Linked DNA regions of Homo sapiens: regions 1 and 3 are each linked to region 2. Evidence: promoter capture Hi-C in human tissues and cell types (Jung and others, 2019). All regions are on one chromosome and are shown on one strand. The core of a region is centred on a gene start or on the middle of the fragment in contact, and the rest is flanking DNA. Distances in the headings are between cores, read along the strand shown.

What was found. Contacts are between HindIII fragments. The study calls those that stand out against the background at their distance.
Region 1: a fragment that was not itself captured here is called in contact with the fragment with the promoter of SEZ6L in region 2 in 1 of the 25 tissues and cell types used here (H1 embryonic stem cells).
Region 3: a contact is called between a fragment that was not itself captured here and the fragment with the promoter of SEZ6L in region 2, in 3 of the 25 tissues and cell types used here (adrenal gland, aorta and stomach).

What each region holds. Positions count from the first base shown.
Region 1 is chr22:26,213,812-26,217,881 of GRCh38, forward strand. The region is part of intron 1 of SEZ6L (seizure related 6 homolog like); the gene reads left to right. Among named protein-coding and RNA genes, the nearest start is that of SEZ6L-AS1, 31 kb to the right of the region's middle. The HindIII fragment of the contact is 6,155 bases long and covers 1-4,070 here.
Region 2 is chr22:26,167,919-26,172,272 of GRCh38, forward strand. It overlaps SEZ6L (seizure related 6 homolog like), which reads left to right and starts at 1,544. Exons shown (of 17, transcript NM_021115.5): 1 at 1,544-1,845. The coding sequence starts at 1,752. It overlaps LOC105372971 (a long non-coding RNA gene), which reads right to left and starts at 1,316. Exons shown (of 6, transcript NR_188586.1): 1 at 1,085-1,316. RefSeq lists a silencer at 1,567-1,696 and an enhancer at 2,523-3,462. The HindIII fragment of the contact is 7,592 bases long and covers 1-4,354 here.
Region 3 is chr22:26,127,918-26,132,289 of GRCh38, forward strand. No RefSeq gene overlaps it. Among named protein-coding and RNA genes, the nearest start is that of LINC02559, 22 kb to the right of the region's middle. The HindIII fragment of the contact is 3,369 bases long and covers 626-3,994 here.

The sequences.
Region 1 (4,070 bases), core at 897-3,396, 46 kb after region 2:
TTGGGAAGCTGATGTGTTAGGATTGCTTGAACTTAGGAAGTCTAGGCTGCAGTGAACCGTGATCATGCCACTGCTCTCCAGTTTGAGCAATAAAATGAGATCCTGTCTCTTAAAAAAAAGAAAAAGAAAGAAAGATCTTGAGCAAGGATGGATTGGGCCCACAGGACAAGCCCAACATTGTGCAAGGCACAGGGCAGTACAAGGACTTCCCAATGATGGCCTCTGTCCACACATTGCTTAATAACCAGTGGCATTCATAGTAGTATTTCAAGAATTCAAAGAGGTCTGCCACTGCAAGAGAAACTAATGACTTTGGAGATCAGTGACCTTCTTGAGTAACTTGGGAAGGAAAAGCTATACAGTCTAATGGTTAAGAAAAAAAGGCATTGGGATAAATTTTGCTTTAAACCTAGCTGTGTGTCCTAGAGCAGCTCACTTCACCTCTCTGAGCCTGGTTTCTTCATCTGAGAAACGGAAGCAGTGATAGTTCCTGCCTCACAGAGCTGTCCTGAGGATTAAAGAAGTAGATGCATGTGAAGTATTTCATGCAGGGCCCGGCACACGGAAAAGAACCAATAAACGTCAGCTATTCTTAGCTACTTGCATCCTAGACCCGTTTTCTCAGATAGAACATTTGCAGGAACATGGATTAAAGGTTATGGATTCCCTGATGGGGAAGAAGAGGGAAGAAAAAACTTTAAAGTCCTGAAGGAGCCAGAACTATACAAAGCAGGAATATCATGTGGAGTATTATATATAAGAAATGCTGGTCGGATCTCCTGCGGAATTTCAGGAAGGAAGCAGCTTGCCCAGAGAAAAGGTGTGAACAGACAGACAGCAACACCTTGTTTTTTTCAGAAGCTTCAACAAAAGGATTTTGGCGCCAGTTGGCCCAGATTTGGAGGGGAGGAAGAAAAGAGTGGGTTGCCTGCAGTCAGAAAGAGACTGAAAGGAGAAGGGGAAAAAAGTAGAAAACACAGAATTATGACTTGGGGAATAGACAGAGTTTGCGGGGATGTTTCTGGGTGGGTGGTGGGCATGGCATTGATCAAACTTATAACACTGATGAATAGAAACATATAAATGACTACATAAAGGAATACATTTAGAGTGCCTGGCATATGACAAAAAAAAATGCTCAATGTGATTTAGTACGTATTCATTGGGCAGGCACTAAGTAAGTGTTTATTGAACTAAAGAAATGAAAGTGGTACATACTTTTTAAGGGAGGAGAACAGAATCGTTCAAGAAAAATGTTTCTCAGCCCTGAACTTTCATCACATGGGTGGTGCTTGGTTAGAAGCGAAGACCGAATTACATGTATCAGTAACTTTGTAATTTACTTAAATTTATTGTTTTAATCATGATGTTAACTGAGATCATTGTAGAGTTTATGTTTGTCCTAAGATGTACTTCTTTTTTAAAAAATTTTAGGTTCACTAGGTATATGGGCTTGTTACACAGGTGTTACATGCACAATGGTGGAGGTTAGACTCTAGTGCACCCATCACCCAAATATTAAACATTTTACCCAATAGGTAATTTCTCAACCCTCACCCCACCTCCCACTCAGACATACTTCTGCATGTTCTTGGTGAGGTCCTGGTCTTCTTTTTCCTTGCTTGGAAAACTTGCTGGATAGATGACTCCCACCATCTTGAAATGGCAAACCAAAATGGGAGAGGCGATTCGTTTTGTTTCCAAAAGAAAACAGATCCCTAATGGAGACTCAGGAAGGGATGAAAGAAAAAAAGAAAAGGCTCAATCCATATCAATCCCTAAGAACACTGGAGAGCCTAGCTGTGAGAGGTAAAGAGAAAAAAGGGAGCAAAAGGAAACCCCATAAAGAAGTAAATGAATGAATGAAAAGAATTCCCCAGGCCTTCATTTCATAGACTGAAGGTTGTGCCCCCAGCCTGAGGTGGGTTTGGATCAAGTGCTCAATCCCAGTGACTTGTCAGGGATCCTTTCAGATGTGTTCACCTCTGGGAAGAAGGGCCATTCGCCTGGGGTGAGCAGGGATCTGAGGAAACGTTTAGGGCATCTTGACTGATGAGCTGAGCCTTATCTACAGAGCAGTGTGAACAGCCTGATGTGATGAGCTCGCTTTGCAAGGCACTGAATCATCCCAGCTTCTCGCTGACAGAAGCAGAGCAGAGGTCCCGGATGCTCCTTATTGCATGACGGGAGCACTAGGTGAAGCCACGGAAATTGGATTTGAGTGATTCCCATCTTCCTCTCTCCCTGCCCCCAAACTAGAGCATTCTGACCATCCAGCAAGCTTAAAGGAACAGAAGCAAAGCCCAGAGAGGAAGAAACAGAAACCCTGTCAGAAGCAAAGCCCAGAGAGGAAGAAACAGAAAACCAGGGAGAGCTGGGACCTTGCGCAGTCCCACGTGGTCAGTTAGTGGAGGAGCTGGAAATGATCTAGCTCTTTCTGCTAAATCAGTCTTTCCTGTCTCAGAACTTTTCCTGAGAAATCACTCAATCCCTAAGGGGACAGCTGACCTGTCCCCAAGTGGTGGATGTTTAGTTTATTGTCCTAAGAAATGATCCAGCAGGGGCCGAGTGTGATGGCTCACACCTGTAATCCCAGCACTTTAGGAGGCTGAGGCGGGAAGATCACTTGAGATCAGGAGTTCGAGACCAGCCTGGCCAACATGGTAAAACTCTGTCTCCACTAAAAGTACAGTAATTAGCTGGGTGTAGTGGTGTGCAACTGTAATCCCAGTTAATCAGGAGGCTGAAGCAGGAGAATCATTTGAACCCGGGAGGCGGAGGTTGCAGTGAGCCGAGATTGCGCCATTGCACTCCAGCCTTGGTGACAGAGTGAGACTCCATCTCAAAAAAGAAAAAGGAAAAGAAAAAGAAAAAGAAAAAGAAATGGTCCAGCAGGTAAAAGTAGTGTCCTTATGTGAATAAAACCAATTTGGCAATCATCATTATCATCATCAAAATGGCCAAAATTTATCAGACATCATGCTATTAATTTGTATTAAATCTGTACAACCACCCACTAGGTCATTCTCATTATTGTCCCCAGTTTGCATATGGAAAATCTAAGGCTTTGAGAGGTAAAGTCACTTGCTTAAGGCCATATAACCAGGAGGGAAGTGGTAGGGTTTAGCCTGGACCCCTTGATGTCTGGTGTCAATGCCAGAGCTCTTAACCACTGGGCTCTCCTGCACCCCTGAGGATTAAATGGGAATAACTGGGATTTGAACCCAGGACTTCTGACTCTTTAGTGCTTTGCTTTTTTGACTAATGATGATAACAGTAACTCACTAATTATCATCTCATTTATTCCACACAATAGCTTTAAGTACCTGCGTGGCAACTTGCACTCCTCCAGGATTACAGTGCTAGTAGGTAGCAGAGCTGGGACCCCAGAATGCCCCATTCTTCCCTTCCCACCACCATAGTGACATTTCCAAACCCAACACTGACTATAACCCTCCAACCCTTGAAACCAAACCCAGACTCTTCTTTGGAACTTACAAGACATGCACAATCAGGTCCTGGCTATCTTCTGTATCAGTGACATCCTCCCTTTTTTCTTTCGGCCACACTGATCTTCTTGTGGCTTCTGCCAACACAGGGCTTTTGCACCTGCTGTTCCCTCTTCCTAAACATTTCTGTAAACCCCTTCCTGACTTTTGGCCTGATTACCTTCTACTTCTCTTTCAGACCTCAGTGTAAGTGTCACTTCTGAAGACAGCTCTGTCTCTTCCTCTGGGGTATCCGTCTATTAGTGGGTCCACATTAATGTGATTATTTAATTAGGTAATGTTAAGTCTCTGCCCATCCAATTTCAATTTCTATGGCCATGAGCAAGTCCCCCACTCTGGGCCTCACTCTTCCAATCTGTAAAATGGATGACAAGGCCCCACGGTTCTTTCAAGATCAGCTTATATGGCCCCAAGTGGGCCTCGCAAATACAACATGTTGTGTGGGACTCCTCCTCCTCAAGGAATTTCCCCTTTAGGTCCTGCCATACGGCATTTTCTAAAATTCCCTTGCCACCTGCTGCGATGGAAGGCGAAGTGCCTGGCTTTCTTTCATGAGAGTTG
Region 2 (4,354 bases), core at 294-2,793:
CACCCGCTGCATGCCTGCATTATACTATACAGAGCCTGAGCGTATAGCCACAAACAGGCAAGGTCATTCCACAGAGAGCTGGCAGCCTCATACAGTAAAGCATGGAGTGCTTCATCTTCTCCAAAGGAGAAATCAGCACTCCTGCATCCCTGCCTCAGCCACCTTCTTTATAAAAGCCAGTTGGGTTTACTGCCAGGAATGGAAACCTCTTGCAGCTGAAGATAGGATTTTATGGGGGGGCTCTCTGTCCCCCAAAGCCTGAGGCAGGTCTGGGCCTATAGTCAGTGGCCTGTAAAAGAGCATTGTTTGAGTGAGTAAATGGGGAAGCTCTGGGTGTGGAGCGTCTTCTGAAACCCTGGGCCAGAGTGCTTCTCCTTCCCTCCTCCATCCAGTGTTCACCTCCCCCACCCATTCTTTCTAGGGACTCCCGGCTCCACCACGCTGCTAAAGACATATTCCTCCCCCTGTTGCTGCCTGCAACCTTCTCTCCATCTGCTCCCTCTGCCTGTTCAGGCTGCAGTGTGTAGATAGTATGGCAAGGTAGGGTAGGGGGAGGAGGACAGCTTCTAAATTGGGTGAGAGGCCTGTAAAGCCTGACCGGTCTGCCAAGGCTACGCAGGGAGAGACAGTCAGTCTCCAGGACTGTGCATAAGCTTGTCCCCACCTAGCTCTCTGCCAATGTCTGTCCCCAAGTATCTGTTTATCTCCCTCATTGATTGTCCCTCACTACCTCTATTTGTGGAGAAAAGACTTTGCTTGAGAATCAGGCCTGGGCAAGAATGCTGCAGAGGTGGGCCTTGTAGTCCTGCTCAGATAGGGAAGCGGGTACAGGAAGAGGCAAGCGGCTGACCTGAGAGGAAGCCTCGCAGCGCTAGTGCCCTGCCGGCAGTGGGGTTATGGGAGACAGGGCTCAGATTAAAAAGTGGAGGTGGATCTTAATTTAGAGTTCGTGATTGGGCTTCAGAGGGGTCCAGACCCCCTCGTGTTAGATGCACGATTTTGTGGCTATGTGTAGTGTTCTAGTAGATTCACAGCTGTCACCAGATCCACAGAGTTACAGACTTTCTAGGTTATGGGGACTCACTTTGGAAGCAGTGAGGCCCTGGCGGGGAAGCAGGCTGGCTGGATCCCAGAGGGCTCTGGAAAGAACTGGAACTGGGATGTATCTGGAAGGCTGGGCAGGCAATGGAAAGCTCCGGGCTGCTCATAAGCTCGGTTTCCAGGGCTCCATCTCACCGTCTGGAAAATGGTCCGGGTGCTCTCCAGCCTGGCCTGGCCAGGCAGAGCTGCTGGGAGCGTCAGCAGGGAGAGAAAACGCTCGGCTCCCAGGACGCAAGGGGAATTGGCGTTAAACTTTGCAGGGCCGACGGGCCGGCGGCCAGAGGAGGCGGCTGGCACCCCCGGCGCCGCCGCGGCCCCTCCAGCTCACTGCCCGCTCGCCCGCCCCCTCCCTCCCTGCACTCGCTCGGCACAGACTCGGCCCCAGCCCCCTCCCTCCTCCCGCTCGCTCCACGCTCGTTCGCTCGCTCGCCGGCTCCTCCTCACTCGCCCGCCCGCGCCCGGCGCAGCTCGGCCAGAGCGACCGCGGGGCTGAGCGCGCGTCCGCCCAGGGGGCTCCGGAAGCTGCCCCGGCCCGCGGCCTCCTCCCTCGCTCCCGCTTCCCCTTTCTCGCTCACCGCCGCCCTCCTTCCCCAGCTCCCTCGCCGTCCGCCCGCCCCACAGCCAGCGGCTCCGCGCCCCCTGCAGCCACGATGCCCGCGGCCCGGCCGCCCGCCGCGGGACTCCGCGGGATCTCGCTGTTCCTCGCTCTGCTCCTGGGGAGCCCGGCGGCAGCGCTGGAGCGAGGTAAGCGCCCCGAGGGGCGGGGCGGGCAGGGGGCAAAGTTGCCGGGAGAGCGGGGCAGCCAGGGGTCGGGGCTGACCAGGGCGACTCAGGCACCACCCGCCGGGATGGGAAGCGGTGGTGGCTGTCCAAAATCGGGGCTAGGAACCGCACGTCCCCTTGGCCCGGGCTGATGGGAGTGTGGAGGCGGGGATGTGTTGAAGGACTCGGGCGCTTCCCTGCTTCGGCTGCGGGCTCCCTTTCGGTCTTCCCCGGCTGCGGGGCTGATTCTCCTTTGCAGCCAAAGAGGTTCTCCTTGGAGTGGGGTCGCCTCCAAACCCCAAATTCCCGGCGCTTCTCTGCAACCGCACCCGGGGCTAGGTGCCAGATAATTATCTTCCTCTCCGGGAGAGGACAGGAAGGGGGGTGAGAAGCTGACCCACCCTGCAACTGAGGACTAGACTCAAACAGTGCATTTGCCGCTCCCCCCGACACCACAGAAACCCTTGACTCCTTTGGTTCAGGCTACCCCGAGGGTCTGTGTTCCTGGATCGATCTCAGCCAAGCGTCAGGATACCGGACTTGGGTGTGGCTTTCGCTAGAGGCCGGTGGAGGGGGCTGAGGGCTCTGAGAACTTGGTAGGGGAGGGAGAAGAGATGTTAGTTAGCAGTTGGGAACCTGAACGGGCTCCCCTCTACTCTCTCCCCTACTGCCTAGCATCTCTGATCACTGTTAGGAATGGGGGGTGAGGGGTGTTAGTTTCATCTACCACGTGTTTGTTGAAGGGGAAGAGGGGCCCAAATTTAGCAGAGAATGACAGCTCCTCTTTCTCAGACCTGGAACCATACCCTCTCTCCACCCCGGTAAGGTACCCCAGGAAAAGTTATGGGTGGGGGAGAGGGCCAGATAGAGAGAGGGGTGCAACGCCTAACTCACCCAAAGCTAACCCTCAGAGCTTCGGGGGTTTTCTCAGGCACCTAGGAGACCCGAAAATCAATGGGAGGGTTAGTTGGCCACAGGACCCGGCCTTCTTGCAAGGTCCCAGAAATGCGCTCCTCACGTGTAAAAAAGCAGACAGCTGCAGGGTCTGCCCAGGCTGAAGACAGAGGGAGCGCAGGCACTATGCTTATCTGGGGCTCCGCCTCTGTCATTTGCACCGTCTTGACTCGGAGTTGGGGGACAGGCGGTGTTCTTCTCCGGGGAGTTCTGGACCCCCAGCGCGCGCACCTGCTTTCAGCACCAAAGGCCCTGGACAGCTCTCAGCTCCATGGGCCCTGGCTCTGGGTCCCTTTCCCTTCAACCCTTCCCGGTGGCCTGGAGTGCCCCCCTCAGCATAAATCAGGCATTTTATCCCCCATCTCCCCGTCTTTTTAAATGTAGAGCCCAGAGTGCAGAGCAAAGGAAATTGTTCATCACCTTTTGTTTAACAAAGCATATCATTGAAGAACCCCCACCCCTTTTTTATGGGGCAATAATGTCCACAATTTACACCAGGTCTGGACAGTTTCTCTGGGAAAGATAGGGAAAGAGATTTGGTTTAAACAAATCGTTTCCACCACAGCATGGCCTTTCTTAATTAGCTGTCTCTTTCTAACAATGGCTTGGTGGCCTTGAACTGAGTCCAGCTCTCCCTCCCCCACCCCCTTTTGAATCTGTGTTGTGACTAACACACATATAAAAAGAACCTGAATCTACCCAGCAGCTTACTGGATTTTCTAAAGCAGTTCTACCTCTGAGAACTCCACTCTCCAATACACCACCTTGCAGGGAAAAAAAAATTGTCTTAATGGCACGTATTGAATTGTCATCTAAGACAAGGATTTCCTATTCTGTTTCCTTCACGGGCTGCAAACACATTGTAAGAGCAGGGGGAGACATGTGTGTGTTTTAATTTTTAAGACATTTCATACTATTTTTCCAACTGCTCAACACCATGGCTAGCCAGCATATTTTTTAAATTGACTTCAGGTCACCACCAAATTAAAGTCAATTGATGTGCTACTTCAGAAAGCTCATTAATAAGTGTGTGGTTCTGACTCTGAGTCATAAGGAGGGAGTGATACTGGCCAATGAGCATTGCCGAGTCTGATGGTGCATTTGGAGACAATTGACCTTCCACAATAAATTCTATTTTTAATGTAGAGCCCAACATCCACTAATGTCAGATGGAGAACCATTCACCTAACTCGTTGTTGCGAACTAGTTCTTCTGCTTGCGGTGAAGTGAGGGGATTTGTAAATACTCAAAAGGGACTTGTTGCTACATTCTGATGCAGGTCACGTGGTTCTCTGGGCCATTTCGCTGTAAGGCATGAATAAGTATAAAGTATAACTTGTTTTTGAAGAGCCTCCTTATTGTCTCAGATATGCACATGGGGAATAATTGTAACTACATGCAAAGACTGCAAAGCCTAAGAATAATTTCTTTTCTTTTTCTCTTGAATTAATAAGGCAAATTCAGTATTGCTCAATAAGGCTCAAATTTGCTGCTTCCCCAGTCTCTAACGTGTGTTGTGGTTAGATTCACTTAAAGA
Region 3 (4,372 bases), core at 1,060-3,559, 39 kb before region 2:
AAAATAACTTCCTTCAATTATCAAGTGCCTACACATTATAGAAATATGGTTGCATAAAGTTGAATGAAGAAAATTATTAACAGTTCCATGACTGCAACACAACAGTGGTTAATATTTTGATACATTTCCTTCCAGTTTTGTTCTGAATGATATTTGCTGTTGCTGATTTGTCTTTCTGTAGTTGATATTAAATACACATTCACTCAACTTTATTATAAGCATTGCCCAGTTTGGCATATGTATTTTGTAATCATCATTTTTTAATGGTTATGTAATATTCTGTTGAGTGGAATGAGGCAAAATTTATTGGCTGTAGTTTTGCACAGTTAGGTTGTTTTCAATTTTTCACCTGTTACAAGTAACAGCAGCTAACACGATTCTATCCATAAAGTTTTTATTTCACATTTAGGATTATTTCATGAAGAAAGGATCTGGAAAGTACTGTTATTGCAACAAAAGTCATAAACAATTTACGAATCTTAGTATCTCACTGCCCTCACCACTTTCTGTGAGTGTTTGTATTCGTACACGAGGCCTCTGGCAATGAATGAAAACAGTGTTATTTCCCCCCTTATTTTATTTTTTTTACACAAATAAAGCACGTTCATGACAGAACGGCAGTGCAAGTTCTTAATAAACCTGAATAGACATTTCTTCCCCAAGATCATGCGATCCATCTTTCTTTGAGATACTGACAATTTAGTCTGTTCCATTCTTACGGGGGTCTTACTTACGGGGTTCTTACTTTCATCATGAAGGAAGGTTACTATAGCAGCACAGAAAACTGAAAGTGATCATTGATTCTCACGAGCTCAGCATTGTGATACAAGAATAGGACACTTAGGGCACCCACCTTAACAGAAACAGGCTTTAGAATTTTTCAACGAGAGCCTCCTGTCAGTTGGTCCCATTAGAAGGTTTCACTAGCTTGCAAAATTACCTGTGTAACTGCAGTAAACATATGGAGACATTCCAGCCCTCCTGGGCATCAGGTCTGCCTGCATATTGTGAAGTCCATGCTAGCTGACCTCCAGCATTGGGGGGGGCTCATTCCTGAGCTCCTTGTCCCAACCCTTGTCTCCTTTCTTGCTTCCAATTTTGGCTCATGACTACGTCCCAGTTTACAACCTTATCCATCTCAGATCAAAACCTGGCACAGTTGCCCCATTGAAGACCTGGCTTCTGATTCCTCACTTGTGAGGTCTCCTTACTCACTATCAGCTGCTGCACTAACTCCTGCCCCTACTGCCACCCCTGGGTGCCAATCCACCATCACGTCTCACCAGGACTAAGGCAATAACCTTCTTCTTAGTCTCTTCCCTTTTGCTTTTGCTTTCTACAGTCTATTCTGCAAAAGAGTGACTTCTTTTCTTTTTTTTTTTTTTTTGAGACGGAGTCTCGCTCTGTCGCCCAGGCTGTAGTGCAGTGGTGCTATCTTGGCTCACTGCAAACTCCGCCTCCCGGGTTCAGGCCATTCTCCTGCCTCAGCCTCCTGAGTAGCTGGGACTACAGGCACCTACCACCATGCCCGGCTAATTTTTTTTTTTTTTTTTTTTTGTATTTTTAGTAGAGGCCAGGTTTCACTGTGTTAGCCAGGATGGTCTCGATCTCCTGACCTCATGATCTGCCCACCTCGGCCTCCCAAAGTGCTAGGATTACAGGCATGAGCCACCATGCCCAGCCGAGAGTGATCTTTTCAATGAAGCTGGAATCAGCTCTTTAAAATATGAATCTGGTCAGGAGGAATCTGGGTATAACCTTCCAATGATTTCCCATTGAACTTGAGATACAGACAGATACTCTACTCTCCTCTGCCTCTTCAAACTCACCTCCCACTACAATATCGCCATTTTATTTCTCAGCCTGCCCTATCCACAGACATCCTGCCTCCCACCTTAGGCCTTTCTCACACCATTCTCTCTGCTTGGAATGCCCTTCCCTCCTTCCTTCTTTGTCTTCTTGACTCCTCCAACTCCTCCTCCCAGTCTTGGCTTAAGTGTCAACCCCTCAGGGAAGCTTTTCTTGGCTTTCCTCAAACAGGATCTGGGCATCATCTGCCTCATTGCACCTTGGTCACAGCTCTGTGCTTTTCCCAGATAGCATTTGTTAAAGTTTAAAAGCATGCACTTGGGAATTTGTTTAAATTGTGGTAAAATACACATAACATAAAATTTACCATCTTAGCCATTTTAGAATGAATAGTTCAGTGGTGTTAAGTACATTTACATTGTTGTGCAACCACCACTGCCCTCTGTCACCATAACCCATTTCAGGTGGCAAAATTAAAACTCTATAGCCATTAAACAATAACTTCAGCCAGGTGCTGTGGCTCACACTTGCAATCCCAGCACTTTGGGAGGCCGTGGCAGGCAGATCATGAGGTCAAGAGATCGAGACCATCCTGGCCAACATGGTGAAACCCAGTCTCTACTAAAAATACAAAAAATTAGTTGAGCGTGGTGGCACGCTCCTGTAATCCCAGCTACTTTTGGGAGGCTGAGGCAGGAGGATCGCTTGAATTCAGGAGGCGGAGGTTGCAGTGAGCCGAGATCATGCCTCTGCACTCCAACCTGGCGACAAAGTGAGACTCTGTCTCAAAAAACAAAACAAACAAACAAACAAACAAACAAATAACTTCACATTCCCCCACTCCCGCTAGTCCTGGCAACCACCATTCTACTTTCTGTCTCTGAATTTGACCTTGTAGCTACCTCATCTGAGCAGAATCTGGCACTGCATGTCCTTTGTGACTGGCTTATTTCACTTTTGTTACATCCCCACCAACAGTACACAGGGGTTCCAATCCCTCCACATCCTCGCCAACACTTGTTATTTTTTGTGGTTTGGATAGTAACTGTCCTGATGGATGAGAGGTGGTATCTCCTGGTGATTTTGATTGGCATTTCCCTAATGACTAGTGGCGTTGAGCACCTGTTCAGGTGCTCCTTGGCCATTTGCATACCTTCATGTGCAAAATGTCTGTTGAAGTTATTTGCCTATCGTTTAACTGGGTTTTTTTTTGATGTTGTTGCAGAGTGTAGGAATTCTTTATATATTCTGTATATTAACTCCTTATCAAATATTCAACTTTCAAATATTTTCTCCCATATCATAGGTTACTGGATGATTTTTTTACAGCCTATCTCTCTACCCATGACTTTAAGATTCACGAGGGCAGGGAGGCTGTCTGTTCTGCTCATAAATGTGTGGCAAACACTTCGCACAGTGCCTGGCACATAAAGGTGCTCAATAAATATTTTTCAAAAATTCATTATTGAATGAATTAATGAGTGAATGAATGAAACAATGGTTGTTTGGAGACTCTTCCGGCTGGGCTGCCTCCCTGTCCAATACCTTTCTTGGCTTCTGTTCCTAATAAGGCTCCTAATGATTCGAACCCAAGTAGCCTGCTTTAAGCAAATATTAGTAGCAAGAATGTTGCCACAAGAGTTACGTTTTTACTTCCACTCCTCACCACAGCTTTTCCCTAATGGTTAAAAAAGTATTTTATGGGAAGCTGCAGTGTTTGCTGGTTTTTGTTGTTTTTTTTTCCTGTAACGAATAACATTTTGGTTCACTGCAAAGCTGGAGCATCTCCAGCAACTGTGCCAAGAATAAAACCTTGAGAGAATAAGAGAGGGGAAAAAAATCAGCTTGGTCAGGCAAAAATAAGCCATGGAATCCCTGAGAAGTTGCCTGAAGCCAGAGTTCTTGCAGAGGAGGCAGGGCCGGGAAGCTGTTGGAGGGGAAGCCAGTGCGATGTTTAATTTGTGTGCTCAGAATGGAGGCTGGGGTGAGTCTTGACTGTAATAACAAGCATTATTATGAGACGTGCAGTGCCCCCCGGCCAGACATCAGCTCCGTGATGCTGAGAGTAGGGGGATGAGGTGGATATGCATCATGACAGTGCTTTTGAAATGGAAATATCCACGCATTAGGCTGAAGGCAGAACCACTCAGAGGGAGAAAAGTGCTGCACCTGGGTCAAGAGAGTCTGCACCACAGGGAATGGCATAGGGCAGTCCTGTCCTTGGTGAGCAGAGATTTCTGAGAATGCTCATATGTGGCAGCAGAGCCTGCCCGTAAGGAATGCAGCGAAAGACAGGCTCTGGGTATCTGGAGGATGCAGCCCCATCCTTATCCTCACCTCCAGCTCCTCAGGTGGGCGCCCGGAGCAAGCCTGTTTGTCCCATCACCTGAAATGGTCTCTCTCCTTTAGACTTTCTGATTCCCTAAAGCCACCAACAAAGGGGTGACTCTGCCAGATGCTCCAAGGGCAGAGACCATATCTGTCTTGTTCACCACAGTATCCCTAGCACCTAGGACTAGCCTGGCGTGAAATAGGCTCCCAATAAATATATAATAAATGGATG